Linked DNA regions of Homo sapiens: all the other regions are linked to region 6. The links are contacts of gene promoters, found by promoter capture Hi-C in blood cells and fetal thymus (Javierre and others, 2016). All regions are on one chromosome and are shown on one strand. The core of a region is centred on a gene start or on the middle of the fragment in contact, and the rest is flanking DNA. Distances in the headings are between cores, read along the strand shown. Region 1 has its middle 39 kb from the start of TRD-GTC1-1. Region 2 overlaps LINC02453 (long intergenic non-protein coding RNA 2453). Region 3 overlaps PARPBP (PARP1 binding protein). Region 4 has its middle 15 kb from the start of GNPTAB. Region 5 has its middle 4.8 kb from the start of TRW-CCA4-1. Region 6 holds the start of BLTP3B (bridge-like lipid transfer protein family member 3B). Region 7 overlaps WASHC3 (WASH complex subunit 3).

Region 1 (3,699 bases), core at 174-2,673, 1.7 Mb before region 6:
TTGGTACAATGCTGATCATATCCCATGAATCCTAGTTGTATGGTTATATTTCATCATACTTAATCCTCCCAGGAATTCTATGGGGTATATATTACTGCATCCACTTTACAGATGAGAAATCTGAGGTTTGTAGAGTTTAAGTAGTTTGCCTGAGGTCAACTAACTGCTAAATGGCAGAGCCAGCCAAAGTTGTAACAAGACCTGCCTGACACCAAAGACCAAGTTCTTTCTCTTGTACCATTTAGGAACCCTCTTCCCCTTCCTGTGTTTCTACTTTTTTTTTTTCTGACAGAGTCTTTCAACCTCCCAGACTCAAGCGATCCTACCACCACAGCCTCTGAGTAGGTAGGACCACAGGAGCATACCACCATACCTGGCTAATTTTTGTTGTGTTTTCTGGTTTTGGGAGGTTTTTTTTGGTAGAGATAGGGTTTTGCCATGTTGCCCAGGCCAGTCTCAAACTCCTGGGCTCAAGCAATCCATCTACCTTGGCCTCTCCAAGTTCTGGGATTACAGGCATGAGCCACTGCTCCTGGTCTCTACATTTTTTAAGCTTTCACATAGCACAATACAGAGGTTAAGAACAAAAGCTCAGCCAGGCTTGGTGGCTCACGCCTGTAATCCCAGCACTTTGGGAGGCCCAGGTGGGTGGATTACCTGAACTCAGGAGTTCAAGGCCAGCCTGACCAACACGGCAAAACCCCATCTCTACTAAAAAATACAAAAATTAGCCAGGCATGGTGGCGCACACCTGTAATCCCAGCTACTAGGGAGGCCAAGGCAGGAAGAATTGCTTGAACCTGGGAGGCGGAGGTTTCAGTGAGCTAAGATCGCACTACTGCACTCCAGCCTGGGGGACAGAGCGAGACTCCATCTCACAAAAAAGAACAAAAGCTCCAGGCTGGGTGCAGTGGCTCACACCTGTAATCCCAGAACTTTGGGAGGCCGAGGCAGGAGCACTTGAGCCCAGGGGTTCTAGGGCAGCCTGGGCAGCATATGGAGACTCTATCTCTACAAAAAATTTTAAAATTTGCCAGGTATGGTGGTGTGCACCTGTAGTCCCAGCTCCCAGCTACTTGGGAGGCTGAGGTGGGACGATCTGCTTGAGCCTGAGAGGTCGAGGATATAGTGAGCCATGATCATGCCACTGCACTCCAGTCTGGGTGACAGAGCAAGACCTTTTCTCAAAAAAAGAGAGAGAGAAAAGAGTGCCAGCTCTAGGGATAGACTGCCTTGTTCGATGATCTTGAATGAACTATTTAATCTCTATTTACAAAATCTGGGACAAGTCACTTAACTTCATCAAGTCAGTTTCCCCATCTGTAAAATAAGAATTTTAATAGTAATATCGGCCGGGTGCAGTGGTTCATGCCTGTAATTCCAGCACTTTGGGAGGCTGAGGTGGGTGGCCTGAGGTCAGGAGTTCAAGACCAGCCTGGCCAACATGGTGAAACCCCATCTCTACTAAAAATTCAAAAATTAGCCAGGCATGGTGGCAGGTGCCTGTAATCCCAGCTACTCAGGAGGCTGAGACAGGAGAATTGCTTGAACCCAGGAGGCGGAGGTTGCAGTGAGCCAAGATTCTGCCACTGCCCTCCAGCCGGGGTGACAGAGCCAGAGTCCACCTCAAAAAAAAAAAAAAAAGGCATTTTAATAGCAATATCTACACTCAGGAGTTTCAGCGCTGATTAAATGAGATAACATCTAACACAGTGCCTAACCATTTGCTAGGAAACAGTAGATTTTAGCTCTATTATTCCCTCTCCATTTCACCTTGCTGGTTTCAGCCAAGTGCTTAGACTGGTCAAAGTAATTCTGAATCCCAGAAAATCCATGCAACTCCTGATGATCAAAAAATATTCTCTTTTAAGTGCTCACATATCATCTGCTTAGTAAACCATCCTAGAGTGTTTCTAGAAATTAACATTGAATTTACAAAGGTTTTTCCTACATCTAAGATAGAAGTCAGATTGTATCTAGAGTTCTTTCCCTCACTTTTATGAACTGTGACATGATCATATTGAAGAGGGAGAAATGAAGGACATTGTAACTCATTAAATGCATAAGACCCAGAAATAATAGAAAGTTGACTTCAGCTGTGATTCATCAGAGGTTCTTTGCATCAGTTCCTACCACTTTATCGCAATTCACTTCCCATATTGCTCAGCCCTATATATTTATCACTGGCAACCCACATTTGAGGCCAATGATTACAAAATGTTCTTTTGTACATCAACCCAGCTGCCAGGAGCCCACCCCCACCCCCACACTCAGCAGAGCTGGTTCAGATAACTAAGCTTTTGATATTTCAAGGCTGAAGGAAAAGGAACTCAATCCCCACATAAGTCCTGTGAGATATTTATTACTGTTCCCATTTTACTGCTGAGGAAGATGGGGCTTCTCAAGGCTATTATTCATATTTTATCCAAAGTCACAGAGTTATTAGGAATGCAGATCGCTGTTGACCTAGATCTCCCACCATGCCACTACAGGTTGAAGGAGCCACAGGCTGCAAACAGCAATGTTTTCCCAAACTGCTTATCCAGCCATGAACCACCCACAGCATTTTTGCAATATCTCCCTACCTCCTATGAAATTACTTACTTAATTTTTTTAATCAATGCACTTTTTGCTGCCTAAATAAATTTAGGGACTATTAGTCTAAACACTAGCAACTCAGAAATCACAGGTTTTATAACACCATCATGTTTATTTTGTGTAATATATTTTTAAATGGCCAGGCACAATAGCTCACGCCTGTAATCCCAGCAATTTGGGATACCAAGGCAGGAGGATCGCTTAAGGCAGGAGGATTGCTTGAGCCCAACAGTTTGAGACCAGTCTGGGCAACATAGAGAGACCCCGTCTCTACAAAAAAAAAAAAAAAAAAAATTGTTTTAATTAGCTGGGCATGGTGGTTCATGCCTGTAGTCCCAGCTACTTAAGAGACTGAGGTGGGAGGATTTCTTGAGCCTGGGAGGTTGAAACTACAGTGAGCCGTGATCTTGCCATTGCACTCCAGCCTGGGAGACAGAGTGAGACCATGTCTCAAAAATAAATAAATAAATGCATTAGATTCCTAGGGCTACCATAACAAATCATTACAAACCAAGTGGCTTAAAACAACAGAAATGTATTCTCTTACAGTTCAGGGGGCCAGAAGTCCAAAATCAAGGTGTTGATTTTCTGGAGGTTCTCAGGGAAAAATTGTCTGATGCCTTTTTCCTGGCTTCTTGGTGTTCTCGGCTTATAGGCATCATTCCAATCTCTATCTCCATAGTCACATGACCTTTTTCTCCCTGTGTGTCTTTGTGTCCAAATATCCCTCTTATTTCTTTTATAAAGATACCAGAGATCAAGATCCTTATTTAATTACATCTGCAAAGGCCCTATTTCCAAATAAGGTCACATTCTGAGGTTCGGGTTAGACATAAATTTTGAGAGGGAGATTATTCAACCCAGTATAAGTAAATGATGATTAAATCATTTGAAAGCTTATCCATGTACCACCTAAAATCATCTTGCATCTTGCCAGTGGTTTGCAAACCACACTAGAGAGATGTTAGTGAACATGACATTTCAAGGTGCTTGAGTCCCTCTCCAGTTTTAAAAGCAGCAGATTTTACAGTTAAGATGGTTGCAGTTTCTTTACTGCATTTGAACCAATATATTTTTGGTAAATCAAGAAGTTGATCCCCT
Region 2 (3,262 bases), core at 129-2,628, 1.7 Mb before region 6:
TGAGGCAGAAGAACTGCTTGAAGCCGAGAGGCAGAGGTTGCAACAAGCTGGGATCACGCCATTGCACTCCAGCCTGGGTGACAGAAAGAAGCTTGTCTCAAAAAAAAAAAAAAAAAGAAAGAAAAGAGAAGAAAAAATGGGAGAAAGACTTTCCTCTCCATACCTTATACCTCCTGGTATCTGGTACTTTTTGAACTTTGTTCTGTGTGCATGAATTGCCTATTCAAATAAAACTGTAATGCCTGAGGTTTTTTTGTTTGTTTGTTTGTTGTTGTTTTTTTTTGAGATGGAGTTTCACTCTTGTTGCCCAGGCTAGAGTGCAATGGTGTGATCTCGGCTCACTGCAACCTCTACCTCCCAGGTTCAAGCAATTCTCCTGCCTCAGCCTCCCGAGCTGGGATTACAGGCGCATGCCACCATGCCAGGCTAATTTTGTATTTTTAGTAGAGATGGGGTTTCACCATGTTGGCCAGGCTGCTCTCGAACTCCTGACCTCAGGTGATCTACCCGCCTCAGCCTCCCAAAGTGCTGGGATTGCAGGCATGGGCCACCACGCCTGAGATCTTATCAATCAAGTATTTAAACCAAAAATATTTTACATCTACATTTTTTTAGTGGAAATACAATTTTAAAAAGCACAGTTTAGCCAGGTGCAGTGGCTCACACCTGCAATCCCAGCACTTTGGAAGGCTGAGGCAGGCAGATCACCTGAGGTCTGGAGTTCAAAACCAGTCTGGCCAACATGGCGAAATCCTGTCTCTACTAAAAATACAAAAAAAAAGAAAAAAAAAATCAGCCAGGCATGGTGGCGGACGCCTGTAATCCCAGCTACTCGGGAGGCTGAAGCAGGGAGAAATGCTTGAACCCGGGAGGTGGAGGTTGCAGTGAGCCGAGATCGTGGCACTATACTCCAGCCTGGGTGACAGAGTGAGACTCGGGCTCAAAAAAAAAAAAAAAAGGCACAGTTTGAGGGTGGGGGCTCGCACATGTAATCCCAGAACTTTAGAAGGCTGAGGAGGGAGGATCTCCTAAGCCCAAGAGACCAGGCTGGGCAACAAAGTGAGATCTCATCTCTATAAAAACCAAACAAAACAGTCTGGTGAAAAATGCGATAGAATGAAGTATATTATAGACAAAAGGGACCTTCAGTATCAACTCTCACATATTGATTGTCGATGAAGAAAAGAGTCAAACTCTGTAAAATATTTGAAGAGACTTATTCTGAGCCAAATATGAGTGACCATGGCCAGTGACACAGCCCCAGGAAATCCTGAGAACGTGTGCTCAAAGTGGTCGGACTACAGCTTTTTATTACACATTTTAGAGAGACAGAAGACATCAAAAAATACATGTAAGATGTACATTGGTTCAGTGAGGGTGGATGGGGCGCTTCTACATCATGAGTGAATTCAAAGATTTTCTGATTGGGAGTTAGTTGAAAGAGTTTATCTAAAGACCTGAAATTTATAGAAGGGAGTGCCTGAATTAAGATAAGGGGTTGCGAAAACCAAGGTTCTTGTTATGCAGATAAAGCCTCCAGGTAGCAGGCTTCAGAAAGAACACATTGTAATTATTTCTGGGTCTCACTCCATCACCCAGGCTGGAGTGCAGTGGTGCAATCTCAGCTAACTGCAGCCTCAACCTCCCAGGCTCAAGCCATCCTCGCACCTCTCAGCCTCTGGAGTAGCTGGGATTACAGATGCGCGCCACTACGTCCTGGTAATTTTTGTATTTTTAGTAGAGACAGGGTTTCACCGTGTTGCCCAGACTTATCTCGAACTCCTGGGCTCAAGCAACCCACCTGCCTCGGCTTCCCAAAGTGCTGGGATTACAGGAGTGGGCCACAGCACCAGGTCAGATTGTAAAACTTTTAATTTTTATTTATTTTTTTTATTTTATTTTATTTTATTTTATTTTTTGAGACGAAGTTTCGCTCTTGTTGCCCAGGCTGGAGTGCAATGGTGTGATCTCGGCTCACTGCAACCTCCACCTCCCAGGTTCAAGTAATTCTCCTGCCTCAGCCTCCCAAGTAGCTAGGATTACAGGCGCCCACACCCCCACCCCATGCCTGGCTAATTTTTGTATTAGCCAGAGATGGGGTTTCACCATGTTGGCCTGGCTGGTCTCGAACTCCTGACCTTCAGGTGATTCACCTGCCTTGGCCTCCCAAAGTGCTGGGATTATAGGCGTGAGTCACCATGCCCAGCCAAAAATTTTATTTTTTACCTTTTTAAGGTGCAAGACTCTCAGTAAATTCTCTCCTGGTTAAGGAAAAATATCTGGAAAGGGAAGGGGATTCTCTACTGAAAGTAGATTTTCCCCACAAGAGACACCTTTGCAGGGCCATTTCAAAATGTGTCAAAAATATATATATATTTTTTGGGGTAAACTACTTCAATTTACTTCAGGGCCTGCTGTCTGTCATGTTGGTATCTTACTGCTACAAAAAGCCTTCTTTGTCAGACTTATGTTAATGCTGGTCAGATGTGCCTGAATCCCAAAGGGACTCTGTCCCAAAGGGAGGAGAGTATAATGAGGCTTGTCTGACCACCTGTTCCCATCATGACATGAACTAGCGTTTCAGGTAACTTTGGAATGCCCCTGGACAAGGAGGCATCCATTCAACTGATTGGGGAGCTTAGAATTTTATTTTTGGTCTACATGGTAAAGCTTAAAGTTGCGGAAATCATTATCCTCAGTCAAGCTAAAGCCTAGGTATCCAGACCTCTCTTTCACCTAATTTATTTGCAATTAATCCAAAGTTCTAGGCCAGGCACAGTGACTCACACCTGTAAACCCAGTCCTTTGGGAGGCGGAAGCATGGAGGATCACCCGAGGCCAGGAATTCAAGGCTGCAGTGAGCTAAGATTGCACCACTGCTCTCCCGCCTGGGTGACAGAGCAAGACCCTGTCTCTAAAAGAAATTTTTAAAACAAATAACAAAGTACTGGTTTATGCTGTATTTATAAAACAACATATGTAGTAAGATTTTCTTAGTTTTAGAACCCAGAAAGCTGTGCCAAATGCTTTGAGAGTTGACTTATTTCCTATTAGGTTTTTTAAATACTTGCAGTCCAGATACTGCTTTTAATTTTTTAAAAAACAGTATCCATACTTACAGGCTCTGATTAAGTTTCAAAGACTAAGCCTGCCATGCTTGTCGGTGTGTGATTCCTTCCTCTAAGATTCCAGACATTCCCGTCTCCAGGCATCACTGTGTCGGGGGAGCGCTGTGTGAAAATGGCTGTGATCTTTGTGCGGT
Region 3 (3,556 bases), core at 278-2,777, 2.0 Mb after region 6:
GCCTAATTCCCAAGTGAGTCTTCATTCATAGCAATCAAATCTCATAATACTACCTTTAAATAATACCAGTAAGTAATTTACTCCTAAAAATGTATTTCAGGCAAAGTGACCATGTCACTGAAGCTGACAGTTCTTCACTTTCTTTTTTCTTTCAAGAGATGAGGGTGATTTTTTGAAGAGAAATACAATTCTTAGCTATTTACTAGGATTTGCATTTATGTAAATAATTAATCTCTAATCTTCTACCTGTATCTTTAAGTTGCATCATAGATTGTGTCTATAATTTAATTATATTGCAAGTGGCATGTATCTTTGCTCTTGATTATACAAACCAAAGTAAACATCTAGGATTCTGTTTATGCCACATAAAAATAGAAGAAAAGGATAGCAGAAGGAGTCAGGAAATGGAATAAGTACAGGAAAATACCCAAAATAAGATGATGGGCATGTGAGTATGTTGAGACTTGAGTACTTAAAGTAGGAAAAAAACTTTTAGCAGGCATGTCTGTAAACTCAGAGAAAGGAATTGGATGCCTTATATAGTCTTGGGTATATGAAACATTGGCACTACCTCAAATTATTTTGAAAGGCTTTTGTGTGCATCAGGAGAAGTTACTTAACATGATGCTTTAAGAACACAGCTTATAGAGTTAGACATATTAAGTTTATGCTGTTTGTCCACTTACAAGCTGAGTGACGTGGAGGTTATTAGGTAAAATAAGGATAATAACAGACCTGTCTTATTGGACACTTATGACAGTCGAGTGAGGTAATCAATATTAAGCTTTTGAAAAGTATCTCCACCAAGTTAGCTCCTAAATATTAGTTATTTTATTGGTTATGTAGTACGGTGTAACAAACCATTTCAAAAGTTAAGGTTTTAAAATAACCATTTCCTTCTGATTCTGTGGATCAGCAGTTTGGGTGGGACACTGCTTGGTGATACTCTAGTGGTCATACAGGACACAATTCCTCCTGTTGTAATAGGTGGTGACAACACATGTGAAATGTCTACCAGGGAAGCTTATTAGAGACTTAATGCCCAGGGTTTTTATTGGGGGCTAAATGCAAAGGCATCCACTGTCTGACATGTACCAAAATTCCAGACTCGCAAGTGTTTAGCATAAACTATATTGTTTGTATGAACAGTTTAGCACAGTGAACCACTCTTACTGGAAACACTCCTGAAATCTAAGCTCCCAAACTGGACTCCAGCTTCAAAGGAGAGCATTCAGGCCTATTGTATTAGTACTTCTGCACACACCACTTAAGGCCTAAGCTCAGAACTCCCACAGCGTCATTCTTGCCACATTCTATTGGTTAAATCAAGTCACAAGCCTGGTCCAGATTCAAAAGGGTAGAAAAATAGGCCACCTCTTTTGGGACAACGTAGGATGGGAGGAAATTGGCTTTTTAGGTTTTTTTTTTTTTTTCCCAATTTATCAGACTTATTACCTATCTCAAAACAAATATATATATTTAAATACAGCTTTAATTAGGTATATTTGTAATTATAAGTTTGCAGTAAATTTGCATGTCTGTTTTTGTGTGAATTTTCAGAATTGAAGGCTACATTTTGTTCTTTCAGAAGGTTTGGCTTAAGAAACCAAAGGGGAGGGAAATATGATTGCGCAGAAATTGTATTATTTTGTTTTCCTAAATTTAATTAAAAGCAATCTTGGTAAATATGAAATGACCTCTCATTCACTATATGTTTTTCTCTATCTGTGCTTGCCTATACATGTTAAATGTTAATTTCAGGTTAACATAAGATACTTTAACTTTGTATTCTGTCCTACTTTAAGATAATGGCTGTGTTTAATCAGAAGTCTGTCTCGGATATGATTAAAGAGTTTCGAAAAAATTGGCGTGCTCTTTGTAACTCTGAGAGAACTACTCTATGTGGTGCAGACTCCATGCTCTTGGCATTGCAGCTTTCTATGGCGGAGAACAACAAACAGGTTGGTAAACTATATTTGGGTTAACTTGTTTTTTTAAAGCAAAATTTCATTGCTGCCCATTTGAATAAACTTAAGCTTAAGAATATTAATTTCTTTACATTATGTGCCCTTCTGTGATAATACACCATTTTCACAAATGCCTCTGTGTATCTGTGTCAGAATGTTATGATAGAATTTGAAATGAATTATTTCAAAATTAAGCTCTTATGTATGGTTATACACGGGACATGCATATTTGATGTTTAATAGGAAGATTTAGGATAAACATGTAACTATTATTATTGTGGTCAAATTATTTTTATTTAATAAGACTTTTTTCATTCCCTAAACTTTTAAAAACTACTGGCTCTTGTACCCCAATCCTGGAAATTCTTCCAATCTGCACCGGGATACTGGAAACTGCCTTTAAAAAATTTCCACAAAGTGATTCTTACTTAGGTAGCTTGAGCCAAACTAGCGTTTGGATTTAAGCCGTAGATTAAGGGTTAGAGGTGTTCAGATGAGAGAAGGATGAATGTAGGATAGAGTGGTAAGGAAAGGCTTTGTGATATTAGATAGATTTTAGATAAAGGAAGAGAAGGCTGTAGAGGAGGTATGATGAGGAAAGTCAGTTCAGAAGAAGGGTTCAGGGGAATCAAAGTCATGGTATGAACTTGGCAAAGATACTGGCTTGACTAGAGAAGAGGATTTTTGAAGGGTAGAATTAGCTTCAATGGGTCTGTTGGGCTAGATATTGAAATGACATTCTGATGAGTTATTTTAATTTTATATGTCAGTAGTTTCCAGATTTTTAGATTCCATAGACAGTAAAATTTCTAAAAAATTATTAGACACTGACAGATTTTAACCATTTCTCATTTTTGCAAATAAGGCCATTGAGAAAAAATAGTTACTATATACTATGATCATCATTTTGAAAAAGGAAGAATATTTTAACACTTAAAAATTAAAAAGTATAAAATCTTAAAACAGGGATAGTGTTTTCTACCTGTGAATAGTTGGCAGTTTTGCATATTTTAAACAATGCATGTTAAGATAAATTTTGAATCTCGAAAACAATGACAAAATGTTATTTTATTTTATGTAGTCAGTCATTTTTTGAACAAATATTGAGTTTTTACTGTGTGTTAGACATCATTGTAAAAATTGGGAATACAGTAATGAAAGAAGTCACTTCTTATGGAGTGAACCTTCTAGGGAGAGATAGCTAGTACTGTAAGATATTTAGTCTTTTAGGACATAATAAATGCTATTAATAATAGTGTTATTAATATGTACATAATAAACATACAGAAAACAATAAAACATGCGACTAAGGAATATGCAGATTTTGGGGTGAAAGGGTTGTTGGAATTTGAAATAGGGTGGTCAGGGAAGGCCTCACCTGGAAAGTACCATTTGAGCAAAGATTTGAAACAGGGGAGGGCATTAGCCATGGGGATTTTTATGGGAAGGGACTACCGCAGGCAAAGGGAGGAGCAGGTGTAGTGGCCCTGAGGTGGCTCTATGCCTGGATGTTCCAGGAACAGTAAAAAGGCCAATACAGCTGTCTGAATAAATGTTAATCTCCTTCCCTCCACTAATTACTTTTTTCT
Region 4 (3,740 bases), core at 111-2,610, 1.7 Mb after region 6:
TGGGAGGCACAGGCTGGAGTGAGCCAAGATTGCGCCACTGCACTCCAGCCTGGGGGACACAGTGAGACTCCATCTCTAAAAAAAAAAAAAAGAAGGAGGGAAAAAAAGAAATTTTATAGAAGGCAGTGAGATATCTGATGATGTCATCAAGAAACTGGTGTTATGTAAGCATGGTGAGAGCTGGAGCCGTGGGAAGGAAACTAAATGACAGGCCCTACCATAGTGGAGGGATGCAGCACTGTGAGAAGGGATGCAGCTAGGCAGGAGAGAAACACCCCTTTGATCTCTTCCTGGTGCCTCCCATTGGTTGAAACCAGAGGTTAGGAGAGTCTGTGTAAAACCGTCCATGTGGTCAGCAAAGGGTATGGGAATGAATCTGGGAGCAAATGAAAACTAGCCAATACATTCGGGGTCTAAAGCAAACATCTCACCATCTCACCGTGTTTTTTTTTTTTTGAGTCAGAGTCTTTCTCTGTCATCCAGGCTGGAGTTCAGTGGTGTGATCTCGGCTCACTGCAGCCTCCTGCCTCCCAGGTTGAAGCAATTCTCCTGCCTCAGCAACCCGAGTAGCTGGGATTACAGGCACACACCACCACACCCGACTAATTTTTGTATTTTTAGTAGAGATGGGGTTTCATCATGTTGGCTAGGCTGGTCTTGAACTCCTGACTGCAAGTGATCTGCCTGCCTCGGCCTCCCAGTGTTGGGATTATAGGCGTGAGCCACCACGTCCGGCCCTCACCATCTTTTGTGCCTAAATCATCTCCCTGTTTTAACTTCTGTGCCTCCATCAATGGCACCATTACTCTCCCAGCCTCTTAAGCTGGAACCTCAGAAATCACTCCAACTCCCTTCATGGATTTTTTTTTTTCCTGTTAGTAAATTCTTATCCCTTATTTGGCATTACCCATCTCATAGGATTGGACTGTTGAATCCTCTATAAATGTGAGACTTCACAATTTCATGGTACTTAACATCACGGTTTAATTAAAATCCTCATGTGTGTACTTATCTCTTGAATGAGCATTTTCAGGGCAGGGTCTGTGCTTCATACTTCAAATCCTCATTGTGCCCCTCAGCATTCTGTCAGGGTAGGGACTCAGCAACGCTTGTAAAATAAATAAATGAATGATCTGTTCACGGTGGACATGGGCCTACAACTTGCCTGAATTCCTTGTCCAAATGACAGAATATGGCAACAGAGTCAACACATTTCACTAGTAAGTGGCAGCATCCACAATGATAACTTCCAAAGATGTTCAACACCAGCAAGCACATCACTGCGACTTCAGTAACCATAGTAACAAGACTACAATAAGATCATAACCAGCTAGTCAGACTAATCTCTTTCTAGTGGAAATGACCAGTGAATTACTTTCTGTGTGGACTGGGTTACTCTAAAGAAGATTCTTTCTTTCTTGCTTGCTTTCTCTCTCTCTCTCTCTTTCTTTCTTTTCAGGATCTCACTCTGTCACTCGGGCTGGAGTGCAGTGGTGTAATCATAGCTCACTGCAGCCTTGAGGTCTGGGCTCAAGTGATCCTCCCACCTCAGCCTCCTGAGTAGCTGGGATGACAGGCAAGCACAACCATGCCCAGCTAATTAAATTTATTTATTTTTTTTGAGAGATGGGATCTCAGTATGTTGCCCAGGCTGGTCTCAAATCCTGGCCTCAAGTGATCCCCCATCTCAGCTTCCCAAAGTGCTGGGAATACAGGTGTGAGCCACTGCACTTAATAATTTCTTTTTTTTTTTTAATTTTAGGGTAAATAGAGATGGGGTTTTGCTGTGTTGCCCAGGTTGGTCTCAAACCCCTGAGTTCACCTCAGCCTCCCAAAACACTGGGATTACAAGTGTGAACTGCTGCACCCAGCCCAGCCGCAGGGTCTCACTCACTCTGTCACCTAGGCTGGAGTGCAGTGGCACGATCTCGGCTCACGGCAACCTCTGCCTCCCGGGCTCAAGTGATTCTCCTGCCTCAGCCTCCTGAGTAGCTGGGATTACAGGCACATGCCACCATGCCCAGCTAATTTTTGTATTTTTAGTAGAGACAGGGTTTCATCATGCTGGTCAGGTTGGTCTTGAACTCCTGACCTCAAGTGATCCACCTGCCTCGGACTCCCAAAGTGTTGAGATTACAGGCGTGAGCCGCAGAACCTGGCTAAAAATTTTACATAAATATAGTTGAGAATCAAAAAAACCTACTGCTAATAGTAAATATTTGCTTTCATGTATGATTGAAATGCATTTTAATATTCTTTTTGTTTTTAAAGTTTAGTTTTATTTTCTTAAACTATTATATTCTTAGTACAAAACATGTAAAAGAAGACAAAATCTCCTATAGCTCTCCCTGCTGCTTGTTTTCTCTGTAAATGTTTCACCTTTGTTTTGTCTTTTGTAAACTGACCTCAATGTTATATTGTTCTGGCTGGGCATGGTGGCTCATGTCTGTAATCCTAGTACTTTGAGGCCGGGCGCGGTGGCTCACGCCTGTAATCCTAGCACTTTGGGAGGCCAAGGCGGGTGGATCACAAGGTCAGGAGATTGAGACCATCCTGGCTAACACAGTGAAACCCCATCTCTACTAAAAATACAAAAAATTAACCGGGCGTGGTGGCAGGTGCCTGTAGTCCCAGCTACTTGGGAGGCTGAGGCAGGAGAATGGCGTGAACCCAGGAGGCGGAGCTTGCAGTGAGCCGAGATGGTGCCACTGCACTCCAGCCTGGGCCACAGAGCGTGACTCCGTCTCAAAAAGAAAACAAAAAAAAACCCTAGTACTTTGGGAGTGCTAGGCTGAGGTGGGAGGATTGCTTGAGGCCAGGAGTTTGAGACCACCCTAGCCAACATAGCGAGACCCCATCCCTAGAAAAAAAAATTATATTATTCTAAAACAATTCATACTCATAAAAATAAAAGCAATTAAAAGTGCATAGAGTAAAAAGTTAAAGACTTCCTTCTCTCCAAGGCCTTGTTCTCCCTCCTAAGGAGTTAGCTATTGTATTGTTCCAGACAATTATTTTCTGTAATGTAGTTGCTTTTTTAAAAAAAGTGTAAGCATTTGTTTTATTACAAGTACAACACGAGTAATATTCTCTTTTTCTACTTCCTTCCCTTACCCCTAGATCCCTCAAATGAAACTGCATAGAAGTAATCATAGTCACCAGTTTCATGTGGATTATGGTTCTTAACACTTGGGCATTTGGAAATGTGGAAGAGCATTTTTGGTTGTCACAGTGAGTAGCTCTACTACTCGTTGAGGGCATAGTGCTCAGGGATGTTAACAACTGTGGTATGTCCAGTAGGCTCCCAAGCAACAGAGCAATGTTCCAGAACGTGGAATGCTGCTAGCACCCCCTGCTGAGAAACCCTGTACGATCAATCTCTTCCATGCTAACTAAACGTATGCACGTGCAGGTGAACACACACACACACACATACACATACCACACACACACACAGTCTCATACACAAAAGTTGAAAGCCTTGTACACTGAAACTCTCATGTACCCACCACTTAGATTCTACTATTAACATTTTGTCTTATTTGCTTTATCACATATCTATCCAGCCATCTATGCGAATTCCCATTCATCAATAATTCATCTTTTGAAAAATGTATTTCGGAGTAAGTTGCAGAGGTGAATATACTTCATCTCTAAACACTTTAGCATTAAATTACTCTTTTTCGGCTGGGCGCAGTGGCTCACGCCTGTACTCCCAGCACTTTGGGAGGCCAAGGTGG
Region 5 (3,493 bases), core at 832-3,331, 1.6 Mb before region 6:
TTAAAAGGATCAAATAAGATAAAATACATCAAAATGTTTTTGAAGCTGTTATACATGTCATTATTAATACTGTTATGGCTCTAAAACTGTCACTTCCCAGGTCCCAGATTCTTTCCCAAGGCTGGACATCTGTAGTTTTTTAGAATGCTCCATCTGATGACTTTCTATAACTTTGAAATGACTGCAAATCCAACACTTTTTAACTTAATCTTCTATACTCATGATATAGGGATGATATACGGAAAGAGTTTTATAGGAAAGGTGGAAACAAAGAGCTATCAAGAGCTATGAAGTGTCAGGATTTGAACTGAAACATGGACCTGTCTAGAAAAGACAGCTCTGTGGATTTGTTCTATTTCACTAAGAAATGTCTATTCATGTATTCTTGCAAGAGGACTTATCCACTACTATAGAATGCTCTGAGCATTTATTTCACCTGTTTAATAGCCTTGCTTTCTTTTCTGAGAGTATTTTAGTTACTTAAGTCCTGTGAAAGAAAAATCTCGGTGTTACTGGGGTCCCAATCCAGACCACAAGAGAGGGTTCTTGAACCTCACACAAGAAAGAATTCAAGGCGAGTCCATAAAATGAAAGCAAGTTTATTAGGTAAAGGAATAAAGAATGGCTACTCCATAGGCAGAGCAGCCCAGAGGGCTGCTGATTGCCCATTTTTGTGGTTATTTCTTCATTATATGCTAAACAAGGGGTGGATTATTCATGCCTCCCCTTTTTAGACCATATAGGGTAACCTCCTGACATTGCCATGGCATTTGTAAACTGTCATGGTGCTGGTGGGAGTGTAGCAGTGAGGACAACCAGAGGTCACTCTCATCGCCATCTTGGTTTTGGTGGGTTTTGGCAGGCTACTGCAACCTGTTTCACCAGCAAGGTCTTTATGACCTGTGTCTTTTTTTTTTTTTTTTTTTTTTTTTTTGAGACAGAGTCTCACTCTCGCCCAGGCTGGAGTGCAGTGGTGCAATCTCAGCTCACTGCAACCTCCACCTCCCAGGTTCAAGCAATTCTTCTGCCTCAGCCTCCTGAGTAGCTGGGACTACAGGCACGCGCCACCACGCCCAGCTAATTTTTGTATTTTTAGTAGAGACAGGGTTTCACCATGTTGGTCAGGCTGGTCTCGAACTCCTGACCTCGTGATCCACCTGCCTTGGCCTCCCAAAGTGCTGGGATTACAGGCGTGAGCCACCGTGCCCGGCCTATGACCTGTATCTTCTGCCGACCTCCTATCTCGTCTTGTGACTTAAAATGCCTTAACTGTCTGGGAATGCAGCCCAGTAGGTCTTTTCTTTTTTTTTTTTTTTTTTTTTTGAGACGGAGTTTTGCTCGTTGTCCAGGCTGGACTGCAATGGCGCGATCTTGGCTCACTACAACCTCCGCCTCCCGGGTTCAAGCGATTCTTCTGCCTCAGCCTCCTGAGTAGCTGGGATTACAGGCATGTGCCACCACGCCCAGCTAATTTTGTATTTTTAGTAGAGACAGGGTTTCTCCATGTTGATCAGGCTGGTCTCAAACTCCCGACCTCAGGTGATCCACCCACCTTGGCCTCCCAAAGTGCTGGGATTACAGGCATGGGCCACCGTGCACGGCCTTACCCACCCTTTTTTCAACATGGAGGTGCTGTGATTCAAACCCCTCTAACATCAGGACCCCAAAAATGACTAAGCCAAAGGGAAAGTCAAGCTGGGAACTGCTTAGGGCAAACCTGCCTCCCATTCTACTCCTAAAAAAAAAGATAGCTACTAAGATAAAAAAGCTATATATACCTCCCTCACAATTTGACCACAAAGAAATTCCTTGTGGACAAAGGACAGATAGAGATTTAAAAAGTCATCCCTCTGCTCATATGAGATAAATGCATATCTGATTGCCCTTTTGTTTCCCTAAGCCAGACTAACATAAGTGACTATTCCTGTAAATAGTGTATTCAGTGAAAGGCTAATCAGCAACTCAAAAGAATGCAACCATTGGTCTTTTATCTACCTATGACCTGGAACACCCCGGAGCCCCCCAACCCCCACTTGTATTAATAGCTGTCCCGCCTTTCTGGATGGGACCATTGTACATCTTAAACATATTGATTGATGTCTCATGTCTCCCTAAAATGTATAAAACCAAGCTGTGCCACACAACCTTGGGCACATGTCGTCAGGACCTCCTGAGGCTGTGTCATGGGTGTGTCCTTAACCTTGGCAAAATAAACTTTCTAAATTGATTGAGACCTGTCTCCGATTCTCTTGGTTTACAGAGCGATGTATTCTGGACGAACTAATAAAATTGAGCTTTTGGACACGCAGAATTGAAATGCAGACCTGAATTCTGATAAGCCAAATGGTTCTCCAACTTAGCACTCTCACTTAAAAAGAAAAATATGGTTTTAAAATCATATGTGTTCATTGTGGAAATCTAGGGAAATACAGACATATAAATAAAAAGAAAATAAGAATCACCTGTGCCTCACTATCCAAGAGAAAGTACTCCACTTTGATGTATATTATTTTTTTTCTTTTCTTTTCTTTTTTTTTTTTTTTTTTTTGCCTCCCCAATAGCTGGGAGTACAGGAGCACACCAGCATGCCAGCTAATTTTTTTTTTTTCTTTTTTTTTGAGACTGAGTTCCGCTCTTGCCCAGGCTGGAGTGCAATGGCGAGATCTTGGCTCACTGCAACCTCCGCCTCCCAGGTTCAGGTGATTCTTCTGCCTCAGCCTCCCAAGTAGCTGGGGATTACAGGTGCCCACCACCACACCTGGATAATTACTGTATTTTTAGTAGAGACAGGGTTTCGCCACGTTGGCCAGGCTGGTCTTGAACCCCTGACCTTGGGTGATCCGCCCGCCTCGGCCTCCCAAAGTGCTGGGATTACAGACGTGAGCCACCGTGCCCGGCCCCACCTAATTTTTGGTTATTTTTAGTAGAGACTGGGGTCTCCCTATGTTGCCCAGGCTGGTCTCAAACTCCTGAGCTCAAGGGATCCTCCCACCTCAGCCTTCCAAAGTACTGGGATTATAGGTGACAGCCACCAAGCCAGCCTCATATTCTTAAATGTCAAAACATGATTTTTTACTACTGTGCATTATTTTGTCATATGGATATATCATAAACAACCAATTCCTTACTATTGGAGATAGAGATTTTTTATTTTTTTCACCATTATAAATGAAGCAATAAATACCTTTATAAATGAATTCCACATTTGATTTTATCTTTAGAATAAATTATCAGAAATGGCTTAAGGGAGCTAAACTTTTTTTTTTTTTGAGAGACCGAGTCTCGTTCTGTTGCCCAGGCTGGAGTGCAATGGTGCCATCTCAGCTCACTGCAACCTCCGCCTCCCGGGTTCAAGGGATTCTCCCACCTCAGCCTCCCAAGTAGCTGGGATTACAGGCGCATGCCACCAGGCACGGCTAACTTTTGTATTTTCAGTAGAGAGGGGCTTCCACCATGTTGGTCAGGCTGGTCTCGAACTCCTGATGTGATCTGC
Region 6 (3,675 bases), core at 903-3,402:
AAAAAAAAATATATATATATATATATATATATAAAATAAAATAAAAACTAGCCCTAAAGACTCAATTTTCAATATATGGGTGTTTTCTATCTCATGCAGTAAGCCATTACATCTTTGTTCTTAATTTTTTTTATTATACTTTGGTATGCATGCTCTTAATTTTTAAGAGCCCCTCTCAAATGGAGTTCTATAAAAGAATTAAACTCTAATGCACTATCTGTTGATTGAATTAACTTTTCTTCCAAGCATCTAGAGTGGTACTAGCTATGCAGCATCATCCTTGGACGAGTGAGAAAGTAGGCATTCAAATCATTTTCTGCAGATCTGTATTTTCTTGTGGAGCTGGGTATGAGAAAGGCGGGAGGACATAAATTAAAAATAGATAAAACCTTCCAAAATAAGATAGTTCAAGATTGGGCCATATATATAATTTTAAAAGAAACTTTTCAATGAGTGATAACATTAAGAAATACATATTCATGCAGGGCGTGGGGGCTCACACCTGTAATCCCAGCACTCTGGGAGGCCGAGGACCGCGGATCACCTGAGGTTGGGAGTTCAAGACCAGCCTGGCCTGGTGAAACCCAGTCTCTACTAAAAAAATACTACATATATACACATATATATGTGTAGTGTATACACATATATATGTAGTACACATATATATGTATGTGTATATATGTGTATATATGTATATGTATATATGTACATATGTATATATATGTACACACACACACACACGCTGCTATACTTTGCTACTTTTAAGAAAAGTGCTATATCTTATTCAGTATTATAAGTGAGGAAAATATTTGCTGAATCACAGAAGTAGAATTCTGTTCCCAATATATAACCTGTGGTATAAGACAATCTGGGGAATCAAGAATTATGTTTACTATACAAGTCTATAATCATACCCGTGTCTTCCCAAAATTAGTTAAAATTAACTTACAAATCGAACAGAAAGGGATCCTAACCAAGGGCTTTGAGTTCGCTGGTAACAACTTGGAACAAGAGCCTACATTTAGCCTGTGTCTTGAGACAAACACGGAGAAGCCAAGAGCAGTAACAAACTGCCAGCCTTACTGAGTCATGTTTCTGACTAAAACCGCGTTATGAAATGGAGAGAATGACATGTCTTGGGTTTAATCACCACAGATGTTAACTCCCTGAATTTTAGAGTTGCAGAGGAAAAAGAGCAAAAACCAAAAAAAAAAAATGTTCAGTAATAATGATGTGGGTCTCATAGGACTCCAGAAAGAACCTGCCAAAGCTGCGAACTCTGCTTATTTACCTAAAACAAATCCTAACTGTGCAAACAGGCACACCCTCTGATGCCACAGAGCGGGAACGCCAAGGTGGGAGGAATTCAGAACAATCACAAGGTTAACGTTCCACTGAGAACACAGCCTCCACTGAGCGTCCACACTGCGCCAGAAGCCCTCGGTTAACGGAACCGCTCTGCTCCAAGGGGAAGGAGCACCGAACTCGAGTTAGAGCCCAGCACATTAACCAGGCACTTGGGTGACGCCAGGCCACCTCCAGCCTCCGCTCAGTACCGCACAGAGCCGAGCCGGGACGCCCCCAGACGCCGCGCCGGGAGCGATCCCAGCCCGCCGCGCTCCGCACTCCGGGCTCCTCCGCGCGCCCACCCTGGGAGAAGACGCGTCAGGGGCCGATTCGTGAGGCCAGCCCCCGGCGCCGCCGGCGACAAGAGATCCGGGGCCGCGACCTCTGCCCCGGCCAGAGCGGGGAAGTCCGAAGGTCGCCTCCCGCACAGCCGCCAGGCGCCGCCGCCCCCGAAGCCGCAGGCTGACTCCAGTGCGGGCTGGGGTGGAGGCCGACTGGCGCCGACACCGAGGCGCTCACTGACCTGGAGAGGTGCTTCAAGATTTGTTTCTTGATGATCCCGGCCATGGTACCGAGGCTGGAGACGCCGCGGTCTCGTCCTGTTGCTCACTGCCTCCTCTCTTCGTGGCCGTCTCCTCTCTGTCCCGGCTAGCCCGGCCGGCGGAGAGGCGCTGATCGCTCACGACCGGGAGAGACCCAAGGCCCCGGCCAAGGCCACAGCCGCCGCCGAGAACCCGGAGCATCACGCTCAGGCCGCCACGGCCGCCGCGGGCGCCATCTTGGCTGCAGCATCACCTAAGAGACTCGGTGGAGGGCGGGGGCGGGGCGGCTCCAGGCGGGGCCGGCACGAGGCGGGGCGGGGCCAACGCCGGCTCTGGGCGGGCTCTGGGCGGGCTCTGGCTGGGCTCTGGCTGGGCTCTGGGCGGGGGCGGGAGGTTTGTGGCATTGGCGCCAGGGTTCTTAGCCCTCGCGACACAGGGCCCTTGACTCTCAATACACCATCCTTCTTGGCCTTAATCCTCCCTCCTTCCCTCTGCTGGTGTTCCCGCCTCCATCGCTGACCCGTCGCTGATTTTTACTTCCACGTCCTACTTCCCTTATTCATTTCCTCAGAATGTTTTTTATTTTTTTGCTTGTTTGTTTTTTTTTTTGAGACAAGTCTTGCTCTGTCACACAGGCTGGAGTCCAGTGGTACGATCTCGGCTCATTGCAACCTCCACCTCCAGGGTTCAAGCGATTCTCCTGCTTCAGCCTCCTGAGTAGCTGGGATTACAGGTGCGCACCACCACGGCCGGCTAATTTTTGTATTATTAGAGACGAGGTTTCACCATATTGGCCAGTAGGTCTCGAACTTCTCACCTCGTGATCCACCCTCCTAGCCTCCCAAAGTGCTGACATTACAGGCGTGAGCCACTGCACCCGGCCTCCTTAGAATGTTTTAAGAATCGGCCATTAACTCCTGTGCTTGCTTTGCTCTCTTGACCTACTCACCTTTCTTCATATTCTTCCTTAGGTTTTTGTTTTTGGTGTTTTTTTTTTTTCTTTTGTTAAGGTGTCCTGCCTTTCCCTTACCTAAATGTGGCAATTTAATGTTTCCTTTGGTTATTGCTATTCTAAGGGAAGTAAAGGTTGACAATGGTTCCTAGTAGTCTAGGACCTAGGAATTAGAAGGTGTATAATTCAAGTCCTGGCTCTGGTATTTTCTAGCTGTGTTATCCTGGGGAAAATAATTTCTTTACTATTAGTTTCATTTTAATCATCTGTGAAATAGATTAATCATCAGCCTTACCCACTTCACTAGGTTGAACCTAAAGGTGTAAATATCATATGAAAAGTTCTGTAAGGAAGGAAGGAAATTGTTGAACTAGGGAAAACTGTTACAATTCTACACCTCCACCCCACCCAATCCCAAACAGAGCTAACATTTTCAGAGATTAAAATGACGACTTCTGTCATCCCAGCACTTTGGGAGGCCGAGGCAGGCAGATCACTTGAGGTCAGGAGTTCAAGACCAGCCTGACCAACATGGTGAAACTCTGTGTCTACAAAAAAAAAATACAAAAATTAGCTGGGCATAGTGGCGGGCGCCTGTAATCCCAGCTACTCAGGAGGCTGAGGCAGGAGAATTGCTTGAACCCGGGAGGCAAATGTTGCAGTGAGCTGAGATCAAGCCACTGCACTCCAGCCTGGGCGACAGAGCAAGACTGTCTCAAAAAAAAAAAAAATTACTCAGTGTTAAGTCAAGTTTAGCCTAACACTGCCTCCTTACGTAATTGAGTTCAGCCTAAAGGTTTTTCTGTACATCATGAACTTATGAAAATAAGCAGA
Region 7 (3,347 bases), core at 216-2,715, 1.9 Mb after region 6:
AGTGCTGGGATTACAGGTGTGGGCCACCGTGCCCCACCCATCAAAGCTTTTCAAGTAGATAAGAAGTATCTGAATATGGGACCACTGATATATTCAGAACAGAAGTTTTTGCTTTCTTTGTTTCTTTCATGGTGGTAGCTGGGGTGAATTTTTAGATGGTCCCAATTTTCTACAGGAATGTTTAGATGAGAATTTTTTGTTTCTGTCCTGTGGTTGAGTTGGTGCCACAGAGAATTTCCATAAAATTCAATTCCATTATTTAAAATAGTTTTTTTTAACTAGTTTTTCTATCAACCAGCCCCAGTCTGAAACTTGACACAGTGTTAACACAAAAGAGCAAGTACTTAATCTTCGTTCACATACTCTACCTACAAAGACATGACCTACAGTAGTTCTTCAAGCAGGTCAGTTTTAGGAGACGTTAATTCTATCTAACTAGACTAGCTATTTCACAACTATGTAAGACAACTTTATAAACTTTGCTTTAACTTACAAAGGTCATTTAATAATCCCATTGTTTTGACGATTCTAAAGATTGTAAGTTTATTTTTACAGTCTACTCTTAAATATTACTGTTGAGGCATATATATGGCAATGGTGGACTTAATTCTGCCTAAGATATCTGAGCATCTGTAGTAAAATATGAAGCTACCTTCATTTGGTTGATATGCTAAAGACATTTTTAAAAGTATCTCATTTTTTAAAAACTTGGTTTGTGTGTTTTGTATGCTCAGGAATTTTTCCACAGTACTGGAGACCATTGCAGTGATTAAATTTGGCCCTTTTGACAGAAAACAGAACAATGCATTCCTAGGGATAAAAAAGGGGTGACTGCAAAGGAGCATGAGGGAATTTTTGGAGTGATTCTATATCTTGTTCTACAACTATTCTACATCTTGATTATGGTATGATTATGCATTTGTCCAATCTCATACTTAATGGTAAATTTTACTGCATATAAGTTCATACTCCAATAAACATGACTTTACAATTAAAACAAAAGAAATATGAAGGCTCATAAGAGATTGCTATGACCAATTATATGCCAACAGATTGGATAACCTAGAATGGATAAGTTCCTAGACACATACAACCTATCAAGACTAAATCATAAAGAAATAGGTAATCTGAACAGACCAATAATAAGTAGAGAGATCAAATCAGTAGTTAAGTCTCCCACTAAACAAAACCCCCAGGACTTGATGCCTTCACTACTGAATTCTACCAAACATTTAAAGAAGAACTAATACAAATCCTTCTCAAACTCTTCCAAAATACTGAAGAGGAGGGGAAACTTTCGAACTCAATTTAGGAGGCCAGCATTATCCTGATTCCAAAGCCAGACAAATCCACTACAAGAAAAGAAAATCAAAGGTCAATATCCCCAGTGAACATAGAAGCAAAAATCCTCTACAAAATACTGGCAAGCTGAATACAACAGCGCATTAAAAAGGTCATTCACCAGGATCAAGTCAGATTTATCCCTGGGATACAAGGATGGTTCAACATATGCAAATCAGTAAAGGTGATACATCACATTAACAGAATGAAAGACAAAAACCGTATGATCATCTCAATAGATGGAACAAAGGCATTTGACAAAATTCAACATCCTTTGATGATAAAAACTCTCAACAAATTAGGTATAGAAAGAATCTAGCTCAACACAATGAAGGCCATTTATGACAAGCCCACAGCTAGCATCATACGCAATGGTGAAAACTGAAAGTTTTTCCTCTAAGATGAGGGACAAGACAAGGATATTCACTCTTACCCCTTCTATTCAACATAGTACTAGAAGTCCTAGCTATAGTAATTAGACAAGAGGGAAAAATAAAAGGCATTGAAATTGGAAAAAAGGAAATGAAATTGTTTCTGTTCGCAGATGGCATGCTCTTATATATTGAAAATCTTATAAAAAATTCCACCAAAAAATTGTTAGAACTAACAAACTACTTTGGTAAAGCTGCAGGATATAAAATCAACATACAAAAATCAGTAGCATTTCTATACACTAAAAGTAAACTATCTGAAAAAAAAGAAAAAAAATCTCATTTACAATAGCTACAAAAAAAATACATAGGGGTAAATTTAACCAGTGAGGTGAAAGATCTGTACACTGAAAACTATAACACATTGATGAAAAAAATTGAAGAAGACACAAATAAATGGAAAGATAACGTGTGTTCATGGATTGGAAACATGAATGTTGTTACAAGGTTGACACCACTCAAAGCAATCTACAGACTCAATGCAATCCCTATCAATTTTCCAATAATATTTTCACAGTAATAGAAAAAAAAATCCTAAAATTCATACTGAACCACAAAAGACCCTGAACAGGCAATGCAATATTAAGCCAAAAAAACAAAGCCAGAGAGATCACACTCTCTGATTTGAAAATCTACCACAAAGCTACAGTAATCAAAACAGCCATAGACCAAGGAAACAGAATAAAGAGCCCAGAAATAAATCCATGCATTTAAAGTCAATTGATTTTTGAGAAAGATGTTAAGAACACAGAAAAGACAGTTACAGAAACATACTTTTCACAGATGTTAAGAATAACAGTCTCAATAAATCATTTTGGGACAACTGGATATCCACATGCAGAATGAAATTAGACCCTCATCCTTTACCATATAAAAAAATTTAACACGAAAAGGATTCAAGATTTAAATGTAAGACCTGAAACTGTAAAACTACTAGAAGAAAACATAAGGGGAAAGTTGCACGACATTGGTCTGGGCAATGACTTTTTTTGGATATAAACCCCAAAGCACTGGTAACAAAACCAAAAATAAATAAATGGGATTACATCACACTAAGAAGTTTGTAGAATCTGGATTTTAAATTATTTTTTAAAAATTATTTTAAAAGACTACGAAGCTTTTGCACAGCCAACGAAACCATCAATAGAGTGAAGAGAACCTATGGAATGGGAGACTATATTTGGAAACCATATATGTGATGAAGGGAACCTCTGTACACTGTTGGTGGGAATGTAAATTAGTACAGCTATTATAGAAAATAGTACAGAGGTTCCACAAAAAATTAAAAATAGAACTACTATATGATCCAGCAATCCCACTTCTGGGTATATATCCAAAGGATGTAAAATTAGTACATTCAAGAGACATCTGTACTTGAAAGTTCACTGCAACATTATTCACAATAGCCAAGATACGGAATCAAAAGTGTCCATCAATGGATGAATGGATTAAAAAAAGTGGTATATATACACAATGGAATACTATTTAGCCTTAAAAAAGAATGAAATCCTGTCATTTGTGACAACATAAATGAACTGGAAGACATTGTGTTAAATGAAATAAGCCAGTCAAACA

What was found. The method cuts DNA at HindIII sites, captures the fragments that hold promoters and counts their contacts. A CHiCAGO score of 5 or more calls a contact.
Region 1: a contact is called between a fragment that was not itself captured here and the fragment with the promoter of BLTP3B in region 6, in 1 of 17 cell types (M0 macrophages). The highest score is 7.0, in M0 macrophages.
Region 2: a fragment that was not itself captured here is called in contact with the fragment with the promoter of BLTP3B in region 6 in 1 of 17 cell types (neutrophils); the score reaches 5.6 in neutrophils.
Region 3: a contact is called between a fragment that was not itself captured here and the fragment with the promoter of BLTP3B in region 6, in 1 of 17 cell types (activated CD4 T cells). The highest score is 8.5, in activated CD4 T cells.
Region 4: a contact is called between a fragment that was not itself captured here and the fragment with the promoter of BLTP3B in region 6, in 1 of 17 cell types (neutrophils). The highest score is 9.9, in neutrophils.
Region 5: a contact is called between a fragment that was not itself captured here and the fragment with the promoter of BLTP3B in region 6, in 3 of 17 cell types (activated CD4 T cells, total B cells and naive CD8 T cells). The highest score is 6.3, in activated CD4 T cells.
Region 7: a contact is called between a fragment that was not itself captured here and the fragment with the promoter of BLTP3B in region 6, in 5 of 17 cell types (neutrophils, non-activated CD4 T cells, total CD4 T cells and 2 more). The highest score is 12.3, in neutrophils.

What each region holds. Positions count from the first base shown.
Region 1 is chr12:98,462,178-98,465,876 of GRCh38, forward strand. No RefSeq gene overlaps it. Among named protein-coding and RNA genes, the nearest start is that of TRD-GTC1-1, 39 kb to the right of the region's middle. RefSeq lists a silencer at 1,552-1,925. The HindIII fragment of the contact is 1,744 bases long and covers 552-2,295 here.
Region 2 is chr12:98,487,875-98,491,136 of GRCh38, forward strand. The region is part of intron 3 of LINC02453 (long intergenic non-protein coding RNA 2453); the gene reads right to left. Among named protein-coding and RNA genes, the nearest start is that of TRD-GTC1-1, 14 kb to the right of the region's middle. RefSeq lists a silencer at 2,657-2,951. The HindIII fragment of the contact is 2,579 bases long and covers 90-2,668 here.
Region 3 is chr12:102,122,081-102,125,636 of GRCh38, forward strand. It overlaps PARPBP (PARP1 binding protein), which reads left to right. Exons shown (of 11, transcript NM_017915.5): 2 at 1,806-1,961. The coding sequence starts at 1,809. Among named protein-coding and RNA genes, the nearest start is that of PARPBP, 3.7 kb to the left of the region's middle. The HindIII fragment of the contact is 1,013 bases long and covers 1,022-2,034 here.
Region 4 is chr12:101,844,186-101,847,925 of GRCh38, forward strand. No RefSeq gene overlaps it. Among named protein-coding and RNA genes, the nearest start is that of GNPTAB, 15 kb to the left of the region's middle. The HindIII fragment of the contact is 6,260 bases long and covers 1-3,740 here.
Region 5 is chr12:98,507,338-98,510,830 of GRCh38, forward strand. No RefSeq gene overlaps it. Among named protein-coding and RNA genes, the nearest start is that of TRW-CCA4-1, 4.8 kb to the left of the region's middle. RefSeq lists an enhancer at 1,032-1,575. The HindIII fragment of the contact is 8,186 bases long and covers 1-3,493 here.
Region 6 is chr12:100,140,722-100,144,396 of GRCh38, forward strand. It overlaps BLTP3B (bridge-like lipid transfer protein family member 3B), which reads right to left and starts at 2,153. Exons shown (of 21, transcript NM_015054.2): 1 at 1,871-2,153. The coding sequence starts at 1,914. BLTP3B-DT (BLTP3B divergent transcript) reads left to right here and starts at 2,334. Exons shown (of 2, transcript NR_186018.1): 1 at 2,334-2,622. RefSeq lists silencers at 1,568-1,817, 2,138-2,317 and an enhancer at 1,698-2,461. The HindIII fragment of the contact is 10,318 bases long and covers 1-3,675 here.
Region 7 is chr12:102,055,605-102,058,951 of GRCh38, forward strand. The region is part of intron 2 of WASHC3 (WASH complex subunit 3); the gene reads right to left. Among named protein-coding and RNA genes, the nearest start is that of WASHC3, 4.7 kb to the right of the region's middle. The HindIII fragment of the contact is 2,843 bases long and covers 45-2,887 here.